2 separate regions of the Homo sapiens genome follow, and region 1 is linked to region 2. The links are contacts of gene promoters, found by promoter capture Hi-C in blood cells and fetal thymus (Javierre and others, 2016). All regions are on one chromosome and are shown on one strand. Each heading gives the region's core, a stretch centred on a gene start or on the middle of the fragment in contact. The rest is flanking DNA. Distances are from core to core; before and after follow the strand shown. Region 1 has its middle 39 kb from the start of ITSN2. Region 2 holds the start of LINC01381 (long intergenic non-protein coding RNA 1381).

Evidence for each region. Contacts are between HindIII fragments. The CHiCAGO score rates a contact against its expected background, and 5 or more counts as called.
Region 1: a contact is called between a fragment that was not itself captured here and the fragment with the promoter of LINC01381 in region 2, in 1 of 17 cell types (naive CD8 T cells). The highest score is 5.5, in naive CD8 T cells.

What each region holds. Positions count from the first base shown.
Region 1 is chr2:24,397,840-24,400,978 of GRCh38, reverse strand. No RefSeq gene overlaps it. Among named protein-coding and RNA genes, the nearest start is that of ITSN2, 39 kb to the right of the region's middle. RefSeq lists enhancers at 318-818, 1,225-1,519. The HindIII fragment of the contact is 6,016 bases long and covers 1-3,139 here.
Region 2 is chr2:25,202,474-25,206,010 of GRCh38, reverse strand. LINC01381 (long intergenic non-protein coding RNA 1381) reads right to left here and starts at 1,698. Exons shown (of 2, transcript NR_132378.1): 1 at 1,462-1,698. RefSeq lists a silencer at 1,361-1,700. The HindIII fragment of the contact is 10,460 bases long and covers 1-3,537 here.

The DNA of each region.
Region 1 (3,139 bases), core at 218-2,717, 800 kb after region 2:
GGACTCAAGCGATCTGCCCGCCTCGGCCTCCCAAAGTGCTGGGATTACCGGCATGAGCCACTGCACCTGGCCAACTCTTTGAGATTTTTTTTTTTTCCAGGTGTGGGAATGTTTTTGTTATTCATGACAAGCACCTTGGACCACACCTGATAGTTATCAGTAACAAGGCCGTTACAAGATAGTTTATGTTAACAAGATGATTCAAGGTGGGGCTGGCCACGAGAGAAGACCAAGTGATTAGAAGACTGGGGCTTTCTCGTCTGGGAAGTGAGGAGCGTCTCTCCTCGGCCGCCACCCCGTCTGGGAAGTGAGGAGCGCCTCTGCCCGGCCACTGTGCAACCTTCCAAGTGCGAAGTGACAGCCTTGCGTGTGATCTTTTCTGTCTTCCCCAAGTTTGCATTTTCGACATTCAAGTTTACTTTTTAGTTAAAAGTTAAAAAAAAAAAAGACTGGGGTTTTGGGCCACGTCACTTCACCCTGACTTCCAGGCAGGGGAGGGAGACTGGCAGTTGGGTTCAGCCACGTGGACAATAATTCAATCAATTGTGCCTATTGTACGAAGCCCTAATAAAAATTCTGGACATAAGAGCTGGGTGAGTTTCCTTCTCAGTATCGTCCCCTTTGTTGATGGGAGGGGAACACAGCATGGGGATGACAGCAGCTCTGCATTTGGATTCCTGCCAGACTTCCACATACGCATTCTCTTCCTCTGGCTGGTTCTAATTTGTATCCTTTACCTGTAATAAATGTGACAGTGAGTATAATCGCTCTCTGAGTTCTGTGAGTCTTTCTAGTGAATTACCGAACCTGAGGGTGGTCATGGGCACCTCTGAATTTGTAGCCCGTTGGTCTGTACTGAGGGTGGCCTTGGGGCCCTTCAAACTTGCAGCTGGTGTTTGAAGAGCAGTCTTTGAAGGACTGTGCCCTCTGACTGTGCAGTTTGCTGAACTCCTCTGCAAGCACTATAAGAGATTTTTAGGATGAGGGAATAGACACAAAGAGGTTAGATAATTTGCCTGAAGTCATACAGCTGGTGAGTGGAAAAGCCAGGATTCGGACACAGGCATTGCAACCATCATATGATATTGAATCAGCTACAGTGTCTGGGATAAATACCCAGGGTTCATCATCTCACACCAAGAGAAGTTAGGACACAAACGCACATGAGGAATTTAGGAGTGGAGGTTTAAAAGGCAAAAGAAAGAAAGAGAAAGGAAAACAGCTCACTCTCTAGTGAGAGAGAGAGGACTTTGGAGAGGAAAAGGCTGGCAGTGGATGTGCCAGATTTTATAGTCAGGCTTGAGGATGCGGTGTCTGATTTACATAGCACTCGCAGATTGGCTTGATCAGGTATGATGTTTACATAGGGCAAGGAGAAGGCTGGCAGACCCACTCTAATCATACTATGCAAATGAACTTTCCCCTTGGCCAGCGCCATCTTGTCTGCTTCTTCCTGTGCATGTGGCTGTCAGAGAAGGGAAGATGGAGCCGCCATTTTTAACATGCTTGGCATAACTGCCAGCGTCTACGTGTGCAGCTCAATTTTACAGGCTGCTGTTAGAAAGGAAAATTATTTGGGGCTGCTTTTCATTAAAAGGAAAACCTTACCAAGGAGTTCTGTGCCCTCACTATCTGCCTAAGTAATTTCTTCTTAACTCCTGTATCAATATTACTGCTTGATCAACTTTGCAGTAGGGAAAAATACCTAACTTAGCTATTCCACAGTGTGTACATATATCAAAACATCATGGTGTACATTTTATATATATATATAAAATATATATACACAATTTTTACTTGCCAATTAAAAATGTTTTAAAAGAATACCTAATAGCACCTTAGGCTTGTTTAGAACTGTTTTTCAAACATACTGTGGCTCACAGTATGAAATCCTGTATTTTCCATGACCACTCATTAAACATAACCTCTCCCATACACACACTCCAGAAATAAAAATATGATGCACCCTGATATTTTCTTTTTTCTTTTTTTTTTTTTTTGTTGTTTTAAGATGGAGTCTCGCTCTGTCGCTAGGCTGGAGTGCAGTGGCACAATCTCAGCTCACTGCAACCTCCACCTCCTTGGTTCAAGCAATTCTCCTGCCTCAGCCTCCCGAGTAGCTGGGACTACAGGCATGTGCCACCACGCCCAGCTAATTTTTGTATTTTTAGTAGAGATGGGGTTTCACCATGTTGGCCAGGATGGTCTCGATCTCTCGACCTCGTGATCTGCCTGCCGCGGCCTCACAAAGTTCTGGGATTACAGGCGTGAGCCACGGTGCCAGGACCACTCTGATATTTTCTATTCCCAATTACTTGTATTTTCAAAATGCTAGAAACCTACCAAATTTATTTCCTATTCACTTAAGAATTTTGCACCAACAATGTGGTGTAGACAGTAAACCACATTTAGAAATGCTGGCTTAGAAATTTGCTTTAAAATGGTACTTTCCAATTATGCCTTTAAGTAAGAATAATCTGGGGAATTTTTCAAGAAAAATCCAAAACCCAGGTCCCACCAACAGAGATTTTGACTCATTTAATCTGGGATGGGGGTTGGACATCAATATTTTATGTTATTTAAGTCTCTGAGCGATTCTAATGTACAGCCAGGAGCTAAGAGCCACTATTTTAAAATATTATCTGCTTCAAAATCTTAAGCAAATGTTTTAAAGAATAAAGACATTCTTTTATTTAAAAGTGAAAGCACATGATGAAAATACGTGGCTAAAACTAGTGACCTAAATCCTTTGCAGCTCACTTTCGTTGGCTGTGATATCTGGGGTAGCATTTTGTCTAAACTGCAAGGGCAATTTTTTGAGTAGTCAGAAATAAACGTGATAACTAACTTTGTAAGTTTAAAGACATAACATTTTGGTGACCTTTCTTTTCACTTAAAAGTAATTTTATTATTAAGAAGATAAATATTATATATATAAAATATATATAATATATACTCCAGAAAATGAGATTAAAAAAGCATAGATACCTGTGTGTCTATCACTCAATTAAGAAAATAAGGTTATAATCTGACATTCATATGACTAAAAAAAAGAAAGAAAATAAGGACTATTATCATCATCTGTGTGGCCTTCTCTGTTTGCATTTCCTTTGTTTATTAGAAATAAACCCAAGGCCAG
Region 2 (3,537 bases), core at 449-2,948:
CCAGGTGTGGTGGCACACGCCTATAATCCCAGCTACTTAGGAGGCTGAGGCAGGAGAATTGCTTGAACCCGGGAGGTGGGGGTTGCAGTGAGCCGAGAGCGCACCATTGCACTCCAGCCTGGGCAACAAGAGTGAAACTCTGTCTCAAAAGAAAAAAAGAAAAAGAAAAAAAAACCCAGCTCTAGTAAAATTGTAATTTACAATTGTGATAACACTGTATAGAACAAAACACACAAGTATAAGTAACATTTGGGAAATCTGCATTAGATCAGCAGGTTACATCCCTGTCAATATGCTGGTTGTGATATTGTACTATAGTTCTGCAAGATGTTACCATTGGGGAAAACTGGGTAGAGGTGGGATCTCTGTATCATTTCTTTTTTTTTTTTTTTTTCTTGAGACGGAGTCTCACTCTGTCACCAGGCTGGAGTGCCGCGGCCCGATCTTGGCTCACTGTAACTTCTGCCTCCCGGGTTCAAGCGATTCTCCTGCCTCAGCCTCTCGAGTAGCTGGGACTACAGGCACATGCCACATGCCCGGCTAATTGTTGTATTTTTAGTAAAGACGGAGTTTCACCATGTTGGCCAGGATGGTCTCAATCTCTTGACCTCATGATCTGCCCGCCTCGGCCTCTCAAAGTGTTGGGATTACAGGCGTGAGCCACCGCGCCCGGCCTATATTTTCTTATAACTGCATGTGAATCTGCAAGTATCTATATAACATTTTCGATTAAAAGAAAAAGCAATTCTGAAGGAGTTGAGATCCATGAGAATTTACCATTTCATGTTAAACCATTTTTCATTAAGATTACATTATAAACATTTCCCCGTGTTTCTACAGACCTTGCAATAATCACTTACTGGCTACACGGCATTCCATCTAGTGGGTGTAAAACCGTTCCCTTAACCATTCTCCCTTGCTAGGTGGCGAGGTTGTTTTCAATTTTTAGCTCACACTAATAATGCCATAATGAACATGATTATGCCTAGGGCACGGTTATTCCTTTGAATTATTTCATTAGGATACATTCCCAGGGAGTGGGGTGCCTGGGCATAAGGTTCTGGACCTTTATGACTGTATTAGGTATTATTAATTTAATATTATATCCTTATTATTGCCCTTTCTAAGGTACAGATCGGCTTTTCCCCAAGTGAGCAAAAGTTCTCTGGCGCGCCTTTCAGCATTCAGATTTGTGGGGGAAAACCTAGGGGCCCCCCACTTGTTTCCGCCTGCACAGTGTCAGGCCAGAGATTTGAGTGGCAGAATGACAGAGGCAGCAGAGTGCAGCTAGAGGAGCTGTCACGGGCGTCACCCTCCCACGGGGCCCGGGCGGGCGTCCGGGGACCTCCTGGGACTCGGTGGCGCCGGCTACCTTCTCCCCAGAGCAGCAGAGGCCGTGAGGGGCCCTGCGGGGCCATGAGGGCGCGCGGCTTTCTTGAAAACAGAGCAGCCTCTGCTCACCCTGCAGGCGCTCTGGAGCTGCAGGAGGCCATTTCTAGAAGGCACCGGATTCGGCCTAATGCGGTGGCGAGGCCGCTGCGTCCCTCGGAGCCCGGTGGGGAGGCCCTGGGTGCCGCGCCCCAAGGCTCGCGGGCGATTGCCGCCCGTGAGGCGCCGCCGGGGAAGTCCGGAGCCCTGGCGTCCCCAAAGCCGTCCGCGGCTCTGCGTCCCAGTCCCGGGCGAGCGCCGCGCAGAGGCCCGAGGACCCCACGCCTGGGTGGGGAAGGCGCGGCCTCGCCATCTTGCTGGGCCACGGGCGCTCGGCGCAGGCGTGCGCGCTTGTGCAGTGTTCACCTCTTTTGGGATTTTATTCTCGTTTCATTTAATTTAACTCATTTAAAAAATTTTTTTTATTTTACTTTTTCTTTCATTTTAGTTTTGTTTTAAATTTTATTAATTTCATTAAATTTAAATTTTGTTAATTTAATTTTAATTTTAGGTGGTTTTTTTTTTCAGTTTGGATTGCCAGGTTAAATGTAGGAGGTCCAGTTAAATTCAAATTTCAGATAAGCAACAGATACATTTTTAGTATACATCTATCCTGTTTAGGATGTCCTATTTAGTATCAGAATGTCTCCAACGTTTTGTCCTGGTTTTTTGTTTGTTTGTTTGTTTGTTTTTTGCGACAAGGACTTGCTTTGTTGCCCAGGCTGGGGTGCAGTGGCACAATCATAGTTCACTGCAGCCTCCAACTCCTGGACTCAAGAGATCTTCCTGCCTCAGCCTCCAGAATAGATGTACACCACTACACTCAGCTAATGTTTGTATTTTTTGTAGAGCTGGGGGGCGTCTCGCTATTTTGCCCAAGCTGGTCTCGAACTCCTGGGCTCAAGTGATTCTCCTGCCTTGGTCTCCCAAAGTGCTGGGATTCCAGGCATGAGCCACCACTCCTGGCCTGGCCTGTATTTTTATTTGCTAAATCTGGCAACTCAATTTGTGGTAGAACCCCTTCTTTGGAGGACATCTGACTCAGAACCCTAATACCTACCCAATGACAGCGAGTGGTCTGTGTGAACTGGGGCCAGGACTAGGGGGTGCAGGAATGTGAGTGTCACCCAGTGTCTCCCAGACTGGCCTGAGGAACCCCCTGAGCAGAACCGAACCACTGAACCTCTCTTACAGGGGCTGAACTCCCCGAGGGCAAGACAGCAACAGCCGCACCAGGTAGACTCTGTACATTGGATTATTCCAGCCATGGCTGGCTCCTGTCCTCTCAAAAGTCCCTCACGGGCCGGGCACAGTGGCTCACGCCTGTACTTCCAGCACTTTGAGAGGCCTCACTTGAGGCCAGGAGTTCAAGACCAGCCTGCCCAACATGGCAAAACCCTGGCTAATACAAAAAATTAGCCAGGCATGGTGGCACACACCTGTAATCCCACCTACTTGGAGAGGCTGAGGCACAAGAATAGCTTGAACCTGGGAGGTGGAGGTTGCAGTGAACCAAGATCGTGCCACTGCACTCCAGCCTGGGCAACAGAGCGAGACTCTGTCTCAAAAAAAAAAAAAAAAAAAAAAAAATCCCTCAGGCCCATATCCTGTGAGCAACAAGCTCTGAAGGAGGGGCCCAGGTCTGCCACTATGGGATGTGGGCAAGTCACTGGCCTCAGTTTCTCCATCTGTGAAATGGGGCTGTTGTTTGGGCTGCTGGAGATAATCTATGTGAAAGTGCCTGGTGAACCTGGACACCCAGAGACTCTAAAGCATGCTTTTTACTGAGGCATAATTCACAAACAGTGACATTCCCCAATTTTAAGTATTGAACTCAGTGCATTTTGACTGATGTTTACAGTTGTGTGACCACCACAATTGCATATATATACATATACAAACATATATGTTGAAGAGTTGAAGGCCATAGCCCTTCTTTGAGGAATTCCGGGTCTGGTGGAGAAGCAGACCACGTGTACTTGACCACCACACACCTGTGTGAGCAGCAGCTCAGGAAGGAACACGGGGGCCAGCGAGGTATGCGGCCACTCTTCCGGCTGTAACGCCCTAGATAGAGCATTTAGTCTGGCCGCCTCTAACGCAGCCACA